Linked DNA regions of Homo sapiens: region 2 is linked to region 1. The links are contacts of gene promoters, found by promoter capture Hi-C in human tissues and cell types (Jung and others, 2019). All regions are on one chromosome and are shown on one strand. The core of a region is centred on a gene start or on the middle of the fragment in contact, and the rest is flanking DNA. Distances in the headings are between cores, read along the strand shown. Region 1 holds the start of EIF4EBP1 (eukaryotic translation initiation factor 4E binding protein 1). Region 2 overlaps RAB11FIP1 (RAB11 family interacting protein 1).

Evidence for each region. The method cuts DNA at HindIII sites, captures the fragments that hold promoters and counts their contacts. A contact is called where the count stands out against the background at its distance.
Region 2: a contact is called between a fragment that was not itself captured here and the fragment with the promoter of EIF4EBP1 in region 1, in 2 of the 25 tissues and cell types used here (IMR-90 fibroblasts and mesenchymal stem cells).

The regions. Positions count from the first base shown.
Region 1 is chr8:38,027,920-38,033,339 of GRCh38, forward strand. EIF4EBP1 (eukaryotic translation initiation factor 4E binding protein 1) reads left to right here and starts at 2,615. Exons shown (of 3, transcript NM_004095.4): 1 at 2,615-2,799. The coding sequence starts at 2,655. RefSeq lists a silencer at 2,396-2,835 and enhancers at 2,412-2,706, 3,336-3,435. The HindIII fragment of the contact is 9,944 bases long and covers 1-5,420 here.
Region 2 is chr8:37,870,859-37,876,423 of GRCh38, forward strand. It overlaps RAB11FIP1 (RAB11 family interacting protein 1), which reads right to left. Exons shown (of 6, transcript NM_001002814.3): 3 at 3,657-4,464; 4 at 420-2,321. Among named protein-coding and RNA genes, the nearest start is that of BRF2, 24 kb to the left of the region's middle. The HindIII fragment of the contact is 6,711 bases long and covers 409-5,565 here.

The DNA.
Region 1 (5,420 bases), core at 1,365-3,864:
CTTTTTTGAAACAAGGTCTTACTATGTTGCCCAGGCTGGTCTCTGAACTCCCGGCCTCAAGCAATCCTCTGGCCTTGTAATCCCAGCTAGGGCTGGGATTACAAGTGCACATCGCTGCAACCAGCAAGGCCTGGTCTATTTTTATCTTATATTATTTATTTATTTTTTGAGCCCTGGCTGGAGTGCAGTGGTGCAATCTTGGCTCATGGCAACCTCCACCTCTGGGGCTCAGGTCATCTTCCTACCTCATCCTTGAAAGTAGCTGGGACCACAGGTGTGAGCCACAACACTGGGCTAATTTTTAAATTTTTTTGTAGAGACAGAGTTTCACCATGTTGCCCAGGCTTGTCTCAAACTCCTGAGCCCAAGCAGTCTGCTCACCTCGGTCTCCAAATGTGCTGGTATTACAGGTGTGATCCACAGCACCTGGATGAAATTAATTTTTTTTTTTTTTTTTTTTTGAGACGGAGTCTCACTCTGTCACCCAGGCTGGAGTGCAGTGGCAGATCTCTACTCACTACAACCTCTGCCTCCCAGGTTCAAGCAATTCTCCACCTCAGCCTCCCGAGTAGCTGGGATTACAGGCACCCGCCACTGTGCCCGGTCTGTTGTTTTTGTTTGTTTGTTTGTTTGTTTTGTTTTTTTGTATTTTTAGTAGAGACAGGGTTTCACCATCTTGGCCAGGCTGGTCTTGAACTCCTGACCTCATGATCCACCCGCCTAGGCCTCCCAAAGTGGTGGGATTACAGGCGTGAGCCACTGCACCCAGCCGAAATTTATTTTTTTTTCTTTTGAGACAGAGTCTTGCTCTGACGCCAGGCTGGAGTGCAGTGGCATGATTTCAGCTCACTGCAACCTCTGCCTCCCAGGTTCAAGCAATTCTCCTGCCTCAGCCTCCCGAGTAGCTGGGACTACAGGCATGCGCCACCATGCCCAGCTAATTTTTTTTATATTTTTAGTAGAGACAGGGTTTCACCATGTTGTCCAGGATGGTCTCGATCTCTTGACCTCATGATCCGCCTGCCTCGGCCTCCCAACGTGTTGGGATTACAGGCGTGAGCCACTGCGCCTGGCCCAAAATTAATTTTTATAATGTATTTTTCTTAACCCAGTATACTCAAAATATTATCAGTTCAACATACAATCAATATAGAAACAAATTATTCAGGTATTTTACATGATTTTCTTCACACTAAGTCTTTGAAATATGGTGTGTATGTTAAACTTGTGACAGTTTGGACTGGTCACATTTGGAGTGCTCAATGTGCACCTGTAGCTGGTGGCTACTGTCTTAGCCACTGTAGGCCTAAAGTTTCCCTCAAAAGTGAGACCAAACTCAACAGGTCTCCCTATCTCAGGCCTTGCCCTCCTTGGCCCATTCTGAAACTCCACTGGCTACTAGTTATCCTTCCAAAAAACAACTCAAATCATGTCATCCCCCTGCTTAAAAGATCTCTGATATCTCCTGCCCTTCTAAGACAAAGTCCAAGCACTTTGGCATAATTTGAAAAACTCAACGACCTGACCCCAATTTCCTTTTTAAAAAATTATTATATATTTTTTTAGAGATAGGGTCTCTGTCACAAAGGGTGGAGTGCAGTGGTGTGATCACAGCTCACTGGAGCCTCAAACCCCTGGGCTCAAGCATCCTCCAGCCTCAGCTTCCTGAGTAGCTGGGATTACAGGTGCACCACCCAATTTCCCTTTTAAACTGCCCTCCCCTCTTCACCCTCTTCCCCACAATATGTGCCCATAATGCTAAGAACTTCTCAAACCCAACAAGCTTTTCCATCCTCGGTCCTTCTTGCATTTTTCTCTCTCCCCTTGAACATCCATCCATCCATCCATCCATCCATCCATCCATCCATCCATCCAAGGAGTACCTACTAAACCTCAGGTGGACGTTGGACTCAATTCAGGGGCTATCGGGAAACCTCTTCGACACTCTTACTCCTCTCCAACGCCCTTCCCCACCACCCACCTCTGCGCCCCCAGCTCTAAATTTAGCTCCCAGGACGCCGCTGGTTGGTTCACTCCTCCTCCCACACCCTCTCTAAAGGCCGGGAACGGAATTGTTAGCCCCTCCACCCCCACCCCCATCAAGGTCAAGAAATTGAAGCGGGGCGGGGGGCGGTGAGCATAACTACTCAATCCCCATTTTCTCATCTGAGGAACTAAGGCACGAAACAGGGAGTGCCGAAGGGTACACCAGGCCTGATGTCCTAATGCAGAAACCGGGCCTTCCTGCAGTGGGCCGGGTCAGCTCGGATCTCCGCGCGGTCCTGAGTCGCCGCCCCCAACCCAGCCAAGGATTAATTTAGGCGAGCTATCCCGCCCGCCATCCCCATATCCGTCCCTGCCAGCGTGGCGGGGAGGGACCCCGGACGGAGGGGCAGTCGCTGCGGGGCGGCGCCAGCGCCCGTGCGGAAGAGCCCGTGAGCAGACGGGAGTGGGTCGGGGGGCGGCGGGGGATCCCACGTGGAAGCAGCGTCCTGGAGCTGGGTGGGGCTGCGGCGCGGACTACAAATCCCAGGGGCGTGGGGCGGGAGAGGCGGAAGGGGCGTCCTGGGGCGGGGCGGCACGGGGCGAGGCGGAGCGAGGCTGGAGGCGCGGGAGGGCAGCGAGAGGTTCGCGGGTGCAGCGCACAGGAGACCATGTCCGGGGGCAGCAGCTGCAGCCAGACCCCAAGCCGGGCCATCCCCGCCACTCGCCGGGTGGTGCTCGGCGACGGCGTGCAGCTCCCGCCCGGGGACTACAGCACGACCCCCGGCGGCACGCTCTTCAGCACCACCCCGGGAGGTAGGCGCGGGCTTGGCGACGCCGCTTGCCGGCTCCTGGGCGGGCGGGAGGATCGGGAATCGCGGATTGGACCGGGTGTCCAGGCTCAAGGGCGCCGTGATTGGAAAGAACGGAAAAGGGGCATCGGAGAGACAGCGAGGGTCATGGAAGTGGCCGCCCGCTTCCCCTCTGAGTGCGTCTTCCAGACCCGAGTTACAAACTGCCCCGTTTGTTTCCTCTTTCTGTTAGGTGTCAGACAGCTGACACCTAACAAACACGCACGCCTCCAGGACAGCCACATGCCGAGCTGTGCTGCCCCTTGTGGGTGTTGGGGGCGCTCCCGAAGCGGGAGAGGGCGGAGTTAGGGTGGCCCACGATCCAGGAGAGGCCTGGCCTGGTGTTTTTATGGGATGGGTATTATCTGTTGGGATAAACGATTCCTGCAGGGCCCTTTTTCCTTCCCGAAGCACGCCGAGTTTTGTGTTGGACTCGCGCGCTCTGACTGAGGTTCGGATCTGGGGGTGCTTGCCTGCTCCAGCAGCGCCTCCCGGGCACCTGTGGCACGTTCCCCATTTACGCGAGTGGGATCTCCGCGGGGGGGACCCTGGCGCCACGGCCAGGGCTGTGCAGAAAAACACGTTCTTCTGTCCGGGGAGAGGAGGAGGCACCGTGTGACCTCCCTGGGAGAGGATGAGGAAGAGGAAGCTGAGCTGGCACGGGTGGGGGGGCCAGCCTCGGGCTGCCCTCAGGAACCTGGCATTCCCTCCCAGCCCCGGAGCCCCAGCGCACAGACGCTGATGAAACCTACGCGCCTGTTTGCATGATGAAATAAATCCTCGTGGCTCTCTCCTCCCCTCTCATTGTCGCACTGCCCCCACCCCTTTTTGCTCCTCTCCCTTCATTCTCCTCCACGCTGCTTTCCATACTACTAGAAAACGCGACAGATCCTGGCGCTTGGCTAGGTGGCGGGCGGGGGCCACATGCTTATTTTCTCAGGCAGCTGTCCCACCAGCAGCGAGCGCGGCCAGATCCGAGGTCCTCTGCTGTTTGATCCAAAACATACACTGTTAGAACGGTTAGGGATCTTGTCCAGCCCTGCCGTCTTATTCTACAGAGCCCGGCATTGAGGCCCCAGAGCTTGAACACGTGTCTGTTGCCCATTGTCACACCGTTTTCCCAGATTGGACAAGAAATAGCAACCAGGCAGAGAAGGGAGAAATGCTTCCTTTTCTATTAGAAATGAGCCAAGGAAAAGCTCGCAGGGGCTCTTGTTGCCATTCCCGACTCATCCTCTTTCCCTTGCTGGGTCTTTTGTAGTCCATGCTGTTCTCCTTTGTCTCTGTCACAATGGTCTACCAGGACAATTCCTGACAATTTTGGAGTTCTTTCAAATGAGGGTGTAAGTGTCTGCTGGATTTGTTCAGGGTGGGCCCTGAGGCCGGCCTGAAGGCGCAGGTAGCCCTTTTTTGCACTCTTTATTGCTGGATTGTTGGGTCAAATTGGAAGCCAGGATACTGTTTATAGGCACTTCTGGCCCGGGTACCAAGGTTCACACCTGTAATGCCAGCATTTTGGGGAGCCAAGGCAGGAGAATTGCTTGAGGCCAGGAGTTCAAGACCAGCCTGGGCAACATAGTGAGACTCCATCTCTACAAAGAAACAAACAAAACAACAACAAAATGTTGTCCTAGCTACTACAGAGGCTGAGGCCAGAGGATCGCTTGAGCCCAGGAGTTGGAGGCTGTAGTGAGCTATGATTGACCACTGCACTCCAGCCTGGGTGACAGAGCGAGACCCTATCTCTAAAATAAATAATAAATATAAAATATAGGAACTTCAAATCCACTTTTCACTTTGGGTTGGGAAGTGGGGAGTGGGCAGGGGGCTGACAGACCACAGCAAATCCCCTTCCCTTTGAAGGTCTTTAGCAGTAGGGGGAGTGGGGAAGGGACTTCTGCATCAGGGCATAGCATATGTTTCTGAGATCACTGGAAGAAGCTAGCAGTGCCAGGAGCCTAAAGCCAGCTCACTGTTTGGTCGTCCAGTGGAGCAGGTACAGCTCACAGTCCCTAAGCCAGGGAAACCTGGCTGACTTCCACTAAAGTCAAGCAAGCCTGGTCGGCCTCGATTAGCCAAGGTGTGGACTCTTCCTCCAAAGCCCACCTCAGCCCACCTCTGCCAGGGCAGAGAAGCCAAAATGGTCACATTGCAGCCAAAATGGTCACACCCTTTTGCTCCAGAGCAGAATACTGCCTCTCAGTCTTCCAGGTGCTTGAGGATAACTGGGGGCTTCATTTAAGTGCATATTCTGATTCTGTAGGTGGGGGTGGGAACTAGATTCAGCATTTCTTTCTTTTCTTTCTTTCTTTTTTTTTTTTTTTTTTTTGAGACAGGGTCTCACTCTATCACCCAGGCTGGAGTGCAGTGGCGCAATCTCAGCTCACAGCAACCTCCACCTCCTGGGTTCAAGCAATCCTCCCACCCCAGCCTCCCCAATAACTGGGACAACAGGCATGCACCACCCATGCCCAGCTGATTTTTGTATTTTTTGGTAGAGACGGGGGTTTCACCATGTTGACCAGGCTGGTCTCAAACTCCTGGCCTCAAGTGATCTGCCTGCCTCGGCCTTCCAGAATGCTGGGA
Region 2 (5,565 bases), core at 2,514-5,013, 160 kb before region 1:
CTCTGCAGAGGCTTCTGTCCCTCCACAGTAAAGACAGCTCAAAACAAACATACAAGCTTCACGTTGGGGAGTGCTTGAAGAAGTTTTTGACACTGCTAGATACTACTACCACTCAATGCCAGTTAGTTCTGAGACAGTTAAGATACTGGTGGCATTGCGTTTCTGCAATGTGCGAGCTCCAAATCTGACCGTGCAGAACAATTCCTAAGCTATATTTACAGACTACTATTATGTTCTTGCTATAAACGCAGCAGTGTCTTGAGGTATTACCACCACAAGGGGCAGCCCTACCAGCAGGACAGTGACAGGTGGGTTGTCACATCAGACGTCTGTGTGGTTAGAAAGCCGTAACCTCTGCAGGTAGGAAGCAAAGGGGGACATTGCTCACATTTACATAGACAATCTCCCCCATCTCTCACCTGTGCTTGGCTGACCCAGTTCCAGCGCCTGGCTGAGCTGAGACTGGATGTGTCTCCGAGGGTGAGACCCAGGCCTGGAGGAGTGGCTTCCTCTTGCCAAAATTTTCAACTCTACCAGCGGAGCCCTCTGCTGTGGCTTTTTTTTGAGATTCTGCTGTGCTGGTGTGGTGAGTGTCAGAATGTGCAGAGCTGGGGAAAGAGTGTGTGACAGGAAAGATCTCAGAAGGGGAGGGGCTGGGTACAGGATTGTCCAGGGATGTGCCAGGAGGCGGGCTTGGACTCCCATTTCCCATCGGTTTTTCTTCCTCACCACCACTGGGGCCTGGCAGCTGTTTATCCAAGCTTGAGCTCTTGCCAAGATGTGGTTTGTGAATTCCGAACTCTGTGGTCTGCTCTGAAGGAGCTGTCACAGATGCCTGGGGTGCTTGCAGCCTGAAATCACACAGGCCCTCCCCCAGTACCAACCTATCTGCCTCGCCACTGGGCCCCTTTCCCCTCTCAGGACAGGGGACTACCAAGCCCAAGGACAAAGCTCCTATGTCCAGAGTTGACGACTTTGCTGTCTCTCCATCATCTTCAACCTGATCTCCGTCATCTTCAACCTGATCTATTCTTTCATCATCCGATGCGACTTCAGGAATGGAAGGAAGGCTTAAGTTCAGATCGGCCATGATTGGAGATTTAAAATCTGAGACCAACTGAAGGTCACTCAAGGGGTCAGACAATAAACCTTCGTGGTCACTGGCTTTGCTCTGATACTGAGTCACAAGGGCATCCTCTCCCTCCATCCTAAAGAGTGGAGTGTCTTTCGCTGAGCTTGCTTCACTCATGGGGACTTCGGAGAAACTCTCCTCCTGGGAGGGGAGGAGGAGGTGATCCGCTGGGGAGGCTGGCGCACCACACGTCGCTGGCCCAGGTGTGGTCACCGATTCCCTTTCTGAGTCCTCTGCGTGGGGAGACTCAGGAGGCTCTCCGTCAGACGCGTTTCCAGCAACAGACCATGCAGGGTTCAGCTCCTGGGGACAACTGCTGTGTCCTTCCACCAGCAAGGCAGCCCCCGCCACTGCCTCTTCCGTGAAGAGCTGCTCAGAAAATGACACACGCTTCTTGGTTTTCTTCTGGTCCTTGCGGAGGTTCAGACCCATCTCTTCCAGCTTCCGCATCATGGAATCAATGGAAGGGACTGATGCTCCCATGGGAAGAGGGGGCGCCACTTCTTCAGCTGCATCCCTGGCTTTGCTCTCCACAAGAGACCCAGCCTGACTCTCCAAGTCTCTGTCTCCTCCTGCTGCAAGCTCCCCAACAGGGCTCACAGCTCCATCACTGCTGAGTGAAAGGGCAAACGGTACTTCCTGGGCTTCTCCAGATGATGGGCTGTAGTCTTGTTTTTTGCAGGGGAATCTCGGAAGTTCTTCCTCTTGTCGCCCTGTTTCAGGCTGCTCTGGGAGAGACTCCTCCAACTCAAGGCTGCTGGTGTTCTTCTCTGTGCCTGTCTCACGGGTCCTGCCCATCAGAGAATCTTCTGTCCCTTTATTTGCTGGAAAGGATGGCTGTTTGAAAAGTGATCCCAGGGCAGAAGAACCAGAATTTGGAACCGGTGTTAAACTCTCAGTTTGCAACTCTGCCTTAGGGAGCAAGGGTGGTCCTTCAGACTTGGCCTGGCCCCTGTCTACGAGAGGCCAGCTTTCAATTGGAGTGGATGTGGAAATGGGAGCTGCTATGGGAGATGAGAGAGAGGAGAAGACAGAAGGACTCTCAGAGGACTGTGTGTCTGCACCATGTCCCAATTCAGAGGGGACAGATGCCTGGCCAGAGCTAGAAGGAAGAGGAGGAAGAGAGGAAGGGGAGTCAGTAGGGGAAGGAAGCCTGGCTGTGGGTTGCGCCTCTGGAGACACTTCCAGTCTGCAAAAAGGACAAAATAAAATCTGCAGGTCAGTGCAGATGCATCACGAGAGACAAAGAAAATACACAAAAACAAGTCATTCACCAGGGGAGAACGTCTTTACACGTGGGGCAGTACCTTAAGAAGTTAAAAAAGGAACGCTAGCCGGGCGCGGTGGCTCACGCCTGTAATCCCAGCACTGTGGGAGGCCGAGGCAGGCGGATCACCTGAAGTCAGGAGTTCAAGACCAGCCCAGCCAACATGGTGAAACCTCATCTCTACTGAAAAATGCAAAAATTAGCCGGGTGTGGTGGTGTGCACCTGTAGTCCCAGCTACTCGGGAGGCTGAGGCAGGAGAACTGCTTGAACCTGGGAGGTGGAGGTTGCAGTGAGTTGAGATCGTGCCACTGCACTCCAGCCTGGGCGATAGAGGGAGACTGTCTCAAAAAAAAAAAGGAACACTAACACTTAACATACACAACAGACACTTTTATAACCAAGCAGATCCGTCACACAAAAGTCTGTTGCAATAGAAATGAAAAGATCCCGGTAAAGCAATAGCCTCTGGTTTCTTGTGGTGATTAACACAAGGCCCGAGCATTTGATTATTACAGGACAAAATGCACCTAAAAGGTTTAAAGTGGTTAAAGATGTAACACAAAGCAACAGGCACAGATAAGTTTAAGAGGAACAGTGTGTATGTGTGTGTATATGTGTGTGTGTGTGTGTGTGCATGTCAAAGTAAGCAGAATCTCTAAAAAAAAAAATCTCACTCCCCAGACCGCAGAAATATTGTCAGTATGAATGTGATCACACAGAAAAGCAGAAGTCCCCAAGGCCAGTCCCCAAGGCTTATGCCGGCTCTTACAACAAGGGGCAGAGTGGACACAAAGAACCGTCACTGTCACTTGAGAGAGGACCGAGGGTCTCTCATACCAGAAACCAATGCCAAAAGGCAAGGAGGCAGGATAACATCTGGCTCAAAGGGAAATGTGAGATAAGAACTTCGAAAACACAGGTTCTGCATACACTACAACCCAAACTCAGTATTCCCAACTTGCAACACCCACAATCTGCTACAAACCACTGCGTTCCACTGAGATCTGATAAGCTGACTGAAAGGACAGACCATGCCTGCTGGGCAGTAGCTCTGAGCTGGGAAACATCACTGCAATTTATACAGGGCAGGCCAGGCTGGCAGTAGGGACTGGTTAAAAAAATAATTTAGACCAGCAAACCTTTGGCATATATGGGTACTATGATATCATGGGACCCACAAGAGCTGGTCTAACGTAAGCCTGAAAACCACCAATGGCAAGGCAGAAATGCCCTGCACGAGAAGAGCCAAAACTCACCGGGGCTTGACAGCTCTGGTCTGGGGAGCCCTCGGAGAGGAAATTGGAGGTCTCGGTTCAGACTTGGACTCTGGCTCAGCTTCTGGTTCTGTGATCTGCACATCTTCAAAGAGGTTCAGGGAGCTGCCCTGTCTGGAGACAACAGCTGCAGTATCTTTCTCAGATCTTCTCACAAGGTCTTCAGCAGGCCCCGATGCGTCCTCCCCCGGCTTAACCCCCATCAGCATGCCTTCCTTCTCCCTCCCTGGGACCGTGAGAGGGTTTTCACCTTCACTGCCCTTAGCCACATCCTTCTTCCCCGTCATCAGAGACAGCAAAGAGGACCTCCTGCTCTCTGGCTTCTTGCTCTCCTTAGCTTCTTTTGTGGCCTCTGAGTTTGCGGGGGCCATGTTTTCCCTGAGGTCCCCACTGACCAGTGGGGCAGGTCGGTAGGACGGCAGGGTCATAGACTTCAAGGAGTCCTTGGTGGAAGATTCGGAGAGCTGCCTGTCAGAAGACAGCCCACCTCCTTCAGCAGGCTCCTTCCAAGACCCAGCCGCCAGGTTCTCTGTAGAAGAGAACAAATGCTTCTTTCTGAAGCCCTTGGGGGATGGGGAGGAGGACGGGCTGCTATCCTTGATCTCACCCTTGGCTTCTGGCTGCTCCAGGTAAACATGGTTCCCATTGATGCAGACATTAGAGCGGGAAAGGACATCATTCTTAGACCGAAGGCCACCAAGAAAGGAAAGTCCTTCCTTCTTGGGAAGGGTAAAGTTGACCTGGTTCAGTTGCTTAAGATCCGTACTCGCTGTTCTCTTGTGAGACATGACTTTGGGAAGAAAAAGAACAGAAAGGGGATAAGATGTTAAACGGGTGGTTTGCAGTGTAGGGGCATCTGTCAACGTCTGGATACATTTCTGGTTGCCACAACTTGGAGGGGGTGTGCTGCTATTCGTATCCAGCAGGTAGAGGACAAGGATGATACTGAACATCTTACAACGTATAGCACAGCCCCCCACGACAAAGGCCTGTCTAGTCTAAACTGTCCACAGTGCTGAGGTTGAGAAACTCTGGGTTAAACCAATGAAAAGGGCAGCACTCTTGGTAGAGTAGCAGAATCCGGCCAATGGGAGGGATTTAGACATTGAAATTGAAGTTCAAAATACATAATTAACTCAGAGCTAAAGGAAGCAGATTCCTTGGCTTCTGATAAGGCTATATCCCACGAGGGTTGAGCACATCACAGGAACTCAATAACTACCTGATGAATTAATGAAATATCAGAATTACCATAAGGTTCCATGGTTTTACCCTTAAAAAAAAGAAAAAAAAAACTTGGAAGACACTCATTCTGTTAGCTCTAAAAGCTTGTACTAGTGGACATCATTTATAGAGCCAGGAACTCTGGAAAAGGAATTTATACATTCTTAGAAACCAGAGGGTATAATCCCAGCACTTTGGGAGGCCAAGGCAGGTGGATCACTTGAGGTCAGGAGTTCAAAACCAGCCTGGTCAACATGGTGAAACCCCAACTCTACTAAAAATACAAAAATTCACCGGGTGTGGTGGCACGGACCTGGAATCCCAGCTATTCGGGAGACTGAGGAAGGAGAATTGCTTAAACCCAGGAGGCGGAAGTTGCAAAGAGCCAAGATCGCACCATTGCACTCCAGCCTGGGTGACAGAGCAAGACTCCATCTCAAAAGAAAAGAAAAGAAAGAAAGGAAGGAAGGAAGGAAGGAAGGAAGGAAGGAAGGAAGGAAGGAAGGAAGAAAGAAGGAAAGAAACCAGAGGGCTTAGAAATAGAGAGGGCATCTCAGCCATGGGCAATGGTTCACACCGGTCATAAGAGCCCTTTGAGAGGCTGAGGCAGGAGGATCACTTGAAGCCAGGAGTTTCAGACCAGCCTGGGCAACATAGTGAGACCTCA